Regions from separate parts of the Homo sapiens genome. Here all the other regions are linked to region 2. The links are contacts of gene promoters, found by promoter capture Hi-C in blood cells and fetal thymus (Javierre and others, 2016). All regions are on one chromosome and are shown on one strand. The core of a region is centred on a gene start or on the middle of the fragment in contact, and the rest is flanking DNA. Distances in the headings are between cores, read along the strand shown.

Region 1 (2,946 bases), core at 128-2,627, 2.2 Mb after region 2:
CTTCCTTTGTATTTTTTTTTCTTTATTGTTACTCTCACTCTCACTACTGCTTTCTGAAGTCTCAGTAGAGGAAGAGGAGGAGGAGGAGGAAGATGAGGAAGAAGAGGACTTATGTTTTTTGTGTTTACTTCTGCTCTTCTGAAACTTTTTCTTTTTTCTATCTTTTTTCTTTTTTTTCTTCTCCAGTCGATCTAATTTCCTGTAATTGGGAAATAAACAGTAACAGACTGTGTGAAAAACAGTTATTTCATCAACTGTAAGTTATGAACAAACAATATATTTTCTTAGAAGTTATTAAAAATAGTATCCATGGCAGAGCGCGCTGGCTCATACCTGTAATCCCAGCACTTTGGGAGGCCACGGCGGGCGGATCACAAGGTCAGGAGTTCGAGACCAGCCTGACCAACATGGTGAAACCCCATCTCTAGTAAAAATACAAAAATTAGCTGGGCATGGTGGCACCTGCCTGTAATCCCAGCTACTCAGGAGGCTGAGGCAGAAGAATCGCTTGAACCCGGGAGGCGGAGGTTGCAGTGAGTCAAAATCATGCCACTGCACTCCAGCTTGGGCAAAAGAGTGAGACTCTGTCTTAAAAAAAAAAAAAAAAAAAAAAAGAACTGGTATCCATATATGAACGCATTGTTTACTAAATGACAACTCATTTTCTTCCTTTAAAATTATTCAAAGCGTGAATACATTAAATTAAAAAATTAAATGCATCAAGCCAATTTTCTGACTATACTTCAATAGTAATGACTACTTTTTTGTTAAATTCTTACTGAGTTGAAATTATATAGCACTCTAAAGGGTCATCCTAAAGAAAGCCTGTGAAAGGTGTGTAACATCAGTTGGAACTACTAAAAAAGCAAATATATAGCTATAATCAGATGAAAAATTAATTTTATGTACTATTTTATAGTATATAAATATTAATCAACGTTATCAAAATTCAAGAGAATATTCTCCAGAAATTCTGAGTAAGAGTACACATTAAACTTCTGAAATATTGGTTTTATAAAATAATATAGTTAATACTTGTTTTCAACAATTGTTTAGTTTTATAAATAGGACAATCCTATTAAAACATTCTGAATTTCTAGAGTACTTCACATTCTTGGAGGAGTAACTTGTTTATATGGTATGTTTGAGTTACTCTGAAAATAAGTCTCTAGGTTCTGTCTAGCCATTCTCAAAACTCTACATACTGAAAGCATCATGAGCTCCCTCTATTGGACCCAGCAGACATTTCTTGGATTCTTTTAATTCAGAGGTAGTCTGTTTAACAAAATTCACGTTTACCTTAAATTTAAGCATTCTTTCTGCATTCTCATAAAATTTTACAAAACATTTTAAAAATGGCCAAAAATGTTTCCTAAGAACAAATTGTGTGCGAAGATACACACAAATCTATTTTGAAAAGTAAAAGCTATAAATAAGTCTAATTCTAAATTAAACATTCTGAAAAGTGCAATCGTTTTGTGGTACAATCTGAGTATACAATCTTACACTCATTTCCATGTTACTGAAAAGACAGACAAAATTGTATTAGCTATGGGTGAAGAATAATCAATAAATGTGATGCATGGTATAAGGACCTTCATGAGCTCTTAGGATCAGAGTTGAATACGATACTGAGATGAATACTAAGGAAAAAATAAATCTATTAAATATATACTTCTAAATTACCTGAGAAGTTTCTGTTTTTGTTTGGTTGTTAGTGACTTTAAAAATTCAACTTCTGGATCTTCTTCACCCTCACTTGCAACATACTCCTGAGTCAACAAAGATATCATTAAATTGCTAGATTTCAACACAAGGTAGTTAGTAGATAAAAAAGAAAACATTTATAAATAAGTTTTGTATCAGGGACACACTGTAGATGAATATGATATTTTGGATTGGGAAGTGGGAGAGAATTAAAAAATTTTTTTGTAGTCTCCCTGCCGAAGTGGATCATACAGCACTAAGAGGTTAACATGACTGCTTTGCCAGCATTAGGAAACTTTTCCAGGAAAAGGATGATAGACACACACAGATAAAATGTTTAGAGCATGACTTCCATTCTCTATCTCTTGAATGTTAACTCTTGCCAGTTTAAATACTTTATTTTTAATTTAATGAAATATAAAAAAGAAGATTATGAGTTTTACAGGAATGTCAAAATATCCACAATTTTAGCTTTTATTATAATTTCAACAGCACATTATCAAATATATAATAATATAGCCCTTCAAACTCAATCATTTTCTGGATCTATGTATAGTTTAATAAAATAAATAAGTTTAAAATATTTTCTACAATTTTTAGGAGTTTTTACATACTTCTAACCATTGGTTCTATTTAATGTCATATCAGGGGTAAGTTAGCAGGAAGGAAAAACCAACAACCTCATCACCAGTTCAGTTAGATATTTTATCCACATAAACTCAGAGGAGCAGTTTCATTTATTAAAATACAGGTTTATAAACAATTTCTCATTTAGATTAAAATAATAAAGCAAAATCAAAACACATTTTGGGCATTTTCTTTGCTCTATCTTACTTTCCTATGGATATATGCATATTGGAAAACATTAAGTAGCAATTCACAAGCAATCACATTTAGATTTATAGACATTTTCAGCTTACTGATAAAAAGATCATTACCTGTGATGGATCATTTGCGGTCAAGTTTCTCCCCAGTACATTTCGTTTCAGTGCAAACCCACTGTTTCTCATCTCCGCTATTAGCTCCGAGGGGTGCATCGATGGCCCTGTTCACAAAAATCACAGTTTGAATGTATCATTTATATCTCTCTACCTTTTTCGGACTCCACAGTAGGAATGCAGTTGAAGCTTTGTTAAGTAAAATCACAGCTAAATCAACTCAATAATCTTCTGCTGAGCAAATAATCAGATATGATTTTCTAAAACAGCAGTCTGGAGATTCAGAATAGAAAATAATTGC
Region 2 (3,027 bases), core at 355-2,854:
TTTCCAGCTTTGGGCCTAGAAGCTTACTTAGGGCCGCTCGAGGCGCAGGCCTGGAAATCCTTAAAAGTACTTAAAATGAACTTTAAAAAGCATTGTCCTAAACCCGCCTGCTTCCCAGCCATCTCAGGCCCGCGCTCTCCTCGCCCCTGCAGGGCGCGAGCCCCACCTGAGTCTGGGTGAGGCCCAGAGAGGCCGCCAGCTCGGCTCGCTCCGGCAAGGCCAAGTATTGAGTCTTTTGGAAACGCCGCTGAAGAGCCGCCAGCTGGAAACTGGAGTAGATGGTGCGGGGTTTCCGGACTTTCTTTGGCTTCCCGTTCACTATCCGAATTTCAGGCTCAAGGTCCTCCTTCTCTGCAACGATAAAGAATCGTAAGAACAGCGCAACCCAGGGGTCCTGGAGTTCCCGCCCTCCTAGAGGGCCCGGCGGGGGGGACTTGGCTTGAGCAAAGAGGTGGGTGCACTGAACTGTGGCGCCACGGGCAGGCGCAACTTCGCAGCGTGCGATCGGAGCCGCCACCGACCCCGGGAGCTGTACCCTCCAGGGAAGGGGGAGACAAGTGCACACCCAAGAGAAAGAAGCTGGTGGCAAGGAGATGCCCTTATGAGGCAGGCAGAGCACGCCCACTTGGCTCTTGAGGCCACCAGGTCCTACCAAAGGAGAGAGGGACGTAACCGGCGACCTGCGGCAGATTGGAGGCTGGGGAGGGTAAAGGGCACAAGCGGGCGGTGAGCAGGCAGCGTGAAAATCCAGAGCTTTCGAAGGCCCCCCGCCCCAAACACGTTTACCCATCCATCCCATTAACTAGACCGACTCGGCACTCTTGACTTCAGCGTTATGCATACCAGGCTCGTTGTTGGCTGGGGACGAACTGGTTCCATAGGGAGCGTAGGAGGTGTAGGCGGCGGTGTAGCCCAGGTCATAGCTGCTCTTGGCGGAGTAAGGGACGTTGTTGAGGCCGCTGGCTTGGTACTGGTAGGAACCCATGTGCGCGTAGGGCGAGCCCCCGCCGCCGCCGCCGCCCGCCGGGTGCTGCTGGTTGGTGTAGTAGCTGCTGTCGGTGGCGGTGGACACCGGAAGGGTGGGCGACTCCTGGGGCTTGTGGAGGCTGCTGCTGCTGCTGCTGTTGCCACCCGGGCCGGCGCCGCCGCCGCTCGGGGGCTGCTGGTGCTGGTGGTACGTGCTGGAGGCGGCGATCTGGGTCGAGTGCATATCAGCCACTAGACTGTCAAAGACTCCAGTCATCCTGGCCCGAGACGGGAAAGAGCAGAGGTGGCGGGCGTGCGGGGGAAGCCAGGCGCCTCCTCTGTCTCTCCCGGTCCCCTCCAGCAGCCAATGTAATTACGGGGGTGGTGGTGGGGAAACAAGAAAGGAGGCAACCGTCTAGGCGCCTCCTCCTCCGGGGGAGGCGATCACCGTGCGCTGCTCGGGACAGCTGCCTCTGGTCGCATCCTCTTTCGGCCTCTGGGCCCGCTCGGCTCCTTGCCCAGCGCGAGCGCGGGCTCTGGCGGGGGGCGGGCAGTGGAGGGGGCAGGGGTGGCTGGGCCGGGTCGGGGCTCTGGGAGGCGGGAGCAGGTGAGCGGCCCCGAGCGGCTTTACGATTGTCTGCCAGGCGGGCTCCTGAAGTGTGGGCATTTAACACTCGTCACGTGAGCGCTGGCGACGTCACCTAGCAACAGCCAATCAGAAGCAAACGGCCGCGGAGCTCCGGGAACGCCCGGCCAAGGGGCGGGCGTCACATGGTGGGCGCTGTGGCTGCGGCTGCGGCTGCAGCGGCCCCAGGTGCAAACAGACTGCCGCCGAATGTGAGCAGCGAGGCGAGGGGTCGAGGTAGCGAGGAGTCAGGGTGGCCCGCAGCAGGAAGACAGAAGGCGTGGAGACAGACTGGCGTTTTGCCTCAGAGGAAGAAGTGGGGTCCCCTCTCCCATTCTGTGAGCAAGTGCCAGTTCCAGTGATTCGTACTTTCATGTCCGAGGTCAGTTTTCAAACACATTAAAGTACATCGGTGCCCAGAGTCCAGCCAGCTCTATCTTCACTTTTCCTCGAAGTGTCTGGCATTTATTCTTGTTAGCCACTCGGCACTTGACATAATCAATTGATTTAATTATCCACAAACCACGTGTAATGCTCGCTTCTTAACCAATCCGCAGGGATATTAGGACAATTAATCATATAATATTGAAACGGGTTTTCCTTGTTGCTTCAAAGAGAAGCTACATAAACTTAAAGGTATTATTGCTAATAGTATATTTGAAACCACTTTCCCTGGTACTTTCCCGACACGCGAGACTCTGAGTAATTATATACGTTTGATAAGTAAATGACACCCTGAAAGCCATCCCGAGGACTTCCTCCTTCGGGTGGAAAGGTTCACCAGTTGTCCTTGAAAATTCGATGCTCTTGCGAAAAAGGAAATAGGATAATAGGTGAGATTATAGATTTATCAAGTAGATACTAGATTTATCACTTCTCTGTAAATTTACAACAAATATAAAAAGTTTTATCTGGTTTGTTGAATTTAATCCTGTTTTACAGTTTTGCATTTTAGGACCCTGTTCTACCCTATCATTGCAATTTTTTTCTTTTCCCTCTGTTTTTTAAAAAATCGGAAATGGTGACTTCCTCTGTCTCTATAACCTTGTAGTTGGAAACCTTGGCCCGACGGTGATGGACTGCACGACTTGCTGGACTCCCAAGTCCGAAGTTCCTGCGGCAGCGCTTGCTTTGTGGCGCCACCTGGTGGGCAGTGTGCGAGGTTGCGGGGGGCGGGGTAGACGGTCTAATCACGCCCAGGCGCCAGCCTCTGAAACCCCCCAAAAGAACAAAATAGTAATTAAAAGCCACAAAATTGTGCTAGTGCGCACCATCTGAAGCACCCTTTCCTAAAGACATAACATGTCGCTGAAAGAACTTGTTAAAACAACTGTCTGATAGAAAACAAGTTGATACCTTCAAAAATATGATCTTTGGTCTTCTTCCCCATAAAAAGCAAGTGTGTAATTAAAACTCCAGCATTCACACAGAGAAAT
Region 3 (3,080 bases), core at 152-2,651, 2.1 Mb after region 2:
GTGGGCAGACTGCTTGAGACCAGGAGTCGAGACCAGCCTGGCCAACACGGAGAAACCCCGTCTCTACTAAAAAGAAAAACAAATACAAAAAAATTAGCCGGCCATCAGGCGCGCAGCCTGTAATTCCAGCTACTCGGGAGGCTGAGGCTCGAGAACTGCTTGAACTCGGGAGGCGAAGGTTGCGGTGCGCCAAGATCACGCCACTGGGCTCTGCCTGAGCGACAAAGCTAGGCTCTGTCTTAAATAAATAAATAAATAAATAAAATATTTGTGGCACCAGGAATCAAAGATAAACTTAGAGTTTAGCTACCAATCTTCCATCCAGACTGCTCACAAAACACTTTATATCTTAACCTGATATATGGTTATATGAAAGAAAGCATTTGGAAGCAAGTACACAGAAGACAGTCAAAGAAAATTCCATTGTGGAACCACCAGCAGCCAAGTCACCCTTCACACCAAACCATTCCTCTATAATCTGGAATCTTATCTTTCCCATTCGCCCACAACCCCCATTTTTCACATAGATGAACACCCACCAGGTACTGGGGTCCTTCCACCAAGTCCCTCCCACCTTTGGCACTGAAGGTACGGCTCATCAGTCCTCATAAGCAACCTCCAAAATCTACATTATGGTTACTATTTCTAATGGTAAATTAATCGACGGAACCTTTTTATTTACAAGTCGAAACTTTCTCTGTCCCTTACTAGTTCTGTCTCCAAATCATGCGTGCAGAATTACTCCCACCCTTGGACTGCAAAGTGAAATCACAAAGACCGCTAAGCTCACGTCTCAGAAGCTGGGAACTAAAACTGTCCCAGTCTTCTGGCTGAGAGTTGTACCTCCTAGGACCACGCTGGGGCCCTGCCCTTGCAGTAGTATTCCAGCCTCTGATCCCTGACCCCGAGGGCCAGGAATTTCCCTTCTCAGCGTCCTGACACCTGTTCCTGGCCAACTCCCAGGCCTCCAAAGAACAGATACAGGAACAGCGCCTGTCGGGTCCTCTGGCCTACAGAGAGGTGGCCGGCAGCCCACCCAAAGTGGGCCCCACCCCCCATCCTCCTCTCCGGACTGGGCCACCGGGCGTCCTGGCGTCGGGAGAAGGCTTTCCCCAGGGCTTTCCCGCGTGAGGCGTAGGCCGATCTCCCGACGCGCGGCCTAGTCCGACAGCGCCTCATTCATCCACACATCCCCAAGCCACCCGCTGCCCTGGCCCCATCTTGGCCACTGGGCCCGGGCCCCGCGCCAGCCTCAGGGCAATGAGCCCAGGCGCCGAAGACCTGGCGGAGATCGCGCCCCCGGGCTCCCTGAGGGCCTCACCGTGCTCGGCCTGGGCGATGACACGGGGTCCCAGCGGCAGCGAGAGAAAGGTCCTGCCGGCAGCTGGAGGCGGGGAGGAAGGAGGAGAGAACGCAGGCCCGTCCCCTCCGCCGAGCGGCACGCACGACGGCGGCGACAGCGGCGGAACGGGCGGGCCGGGCGCCGAGCGGCACCTGCGCGCAGACCATGGGCCCCGCCCCTCCCCGCCTTGCCCGCGCGTCCCGCCCATTGGCCTAACCGGCCGGGGAGGCGGGAGTAGGGCGGGAGGAGCCCAGGGTGGGAGGAGCCGCGCGGCGGCAGGGAGCTGGAGAGGGGAAGGCGCTGGCTAGGCCGTTCCCGGGAGCTCTAGTCTTCCGCTTCGGCACGTGGGCTTCTCGGTTCTAGGTCTCCGCTTCCGTCTGGCTGCGCGGCCTGGGTTACCTGCTCACGTTCACTCGCGGGCCTACAGCCCCAAGCTTTCCCAGCTGGACTGCGGAGTGCCTTGGGCCCTGACTTCCCTCCGGGAGATCCGGGGCGTCTGAAGTCAGGCAAACAGCCACACCAGCCCCGAGGACCGCGTGGCCGCTAGCCCATCTCCCTTTTCTATAACTTTATTCGCTCAGTCTGTGCGGAGAGAAGCTGTTAACTAAAAGTTCTTGAAGGAAAAGGGGCTAAGGGAAACTTTGGTCTAGGGATTTCTTCCTCGCCTTATAGTTAAAGCGTCGCACACAGGTACTGGATCACAGAATGCGTTTAATTGAGCCAATTTCCCCCCTTTTCCTCTTGGTAGTTGAGAGCAGGGGCCTTTGAAATTTGGGAATTTCCAATCTGGATTTCGCCACTCATTGACTGTATGACCCTAGACAAATTAACTTCTCTGGACTTCAATTTCGTTCTGGATAAAATGAGGCTATTAAAACCACCTTATGAGGTTATTCGTGTGAGAATAAAATGAGACAATGCGTGTTGAGCTCATAACAACAGTACTCAGCACATACAGAAAAGGCTTGTGAGTAGTCGCTGTTGTTAATATTAGGATTTCATCCCATCTCACCCACATCATATCAATACCATGAGCGCCACTGGAGAAGGAATTCTTTCATTTAGGTCCTGGCCTTCAGATGTCATTCAGGTATTTGTTGTAATGAATATGATACCTGTCCAAAAATTGTGACACTAGAAGCTCCTTTTAAAGGGATTAGTTGCTATTAATATTAAAGGATGTAAATAGGTCGCCATCCCCATTTTACAAGTGAGGAAACAATATCAGAAAGGTTGATTAATTTGGATGAAGTCACACAACTAGTAAATGGCAGCAGCATATTTCAAACCACAATCTAACTGAAAATCTGGCCGTAATCCCAGCACTTTGGGAGGCCAAGATAGGGGGATCAGTTGAGCCTAGGAGTTGGAGAACAGCCTGGACAACGTGGTGAGACCCCATCTCTACCAAAAAACAAAAATTAGCTGGGTGTAGTGGCACATACCTGTAGTCCCAGCTACTCAGGAGGCTGAGGTGAGAGGATGGCTTGAGCCTGAGAGCTCAAGGTTGCAGTGAGCTATGATCACTGCCGCAGCACTCTAGCCTGGGTGTAGAGCAAGACCTTATCTCTAACAAAATAAATACAAATAAAAAGTAAAACTAAAACTATCTGAAAAATCTGTTTCCTTTCAGCGAGAATTCATTTTTATTTTTTGAGATGGAGTCTCACTCTGTCGCCCAGGCTGGAGTGCAGTGGCGTGATCTGGGCTCACGGCAACCTCCGCCTCCCGAGTTCAA

What was found. Contacts are between HindIII fragments. The CHiCAGO score rates a contact against its expected background, and 5 or more counts as called.
Region 1: a fragment that was not itself captured here is called in contact with the fragment with the promoter of DLX2 in region 2 in 1 of 17 cell types (total B cells); the score reaches 7.0 in total B cells.
Region 3: a contact is called between the fragment with the promoter of OLA1 here and the fragment with the promoter of DLX2 in region 2, in 1 of 17 cell types (total B cells). The highest score is 7.7, in total B cells.

Annotation. Positions count from the first base shown.
Region 1 is chr2:174,348,974-174,351,919 of GRCh38, forward strand. CIRSR (corepressor of RBPJ and splicing regulator) reads right to left here. Exons shown (of 10, transcript NM_004882.4): 8 at 2,646-2,752; 9 at 1,687-1,772; 10 at 1-199. Among named protein-coding and RNA genes, the nearest start is that of SP9, 15 kb to the left of the region's middle. The HindIII fragment of the contact is 2,909 bases long and covers 1-2,832 here.
Region 2 is chr2:172,101,296-172,104,322 of GRCh38, forward strand. DLX2 (distal-less homeobox 2) reads right to left here and starts at 1,605. Exons shown (of 3, transcript NM_004405.4): 1 at 844-1,605; 2 at 167-351. The coding sequence starts at 1,243. It overlaps DLX2-DT (DLX2 divergent transcript), which reads left to right and starts at 1,711. Exons shown (of 5, transcript NR_126376.1): 1 at 1,711-1,973; 2 at 2,643-2,737. RefSeq lists a silencer at 1,407-1,606. The HindIII fragment of the contact is 7,057 bases long and covers 21-3,027 here.
Region 3 is chr2:174,247,131-174,250,210 of GRCh38, forward strand. OLA1 (Obg like ATPase 1) reads right to left here and starts at 1,402. Exons shown (of 11, transcript NM_013341.5): 1 at 1,322-1,402. RefSeq lists a silencer at 1,188-1,707. The HindIII fragment of the contact is 2,463 bases long and covers 1-1,774 here.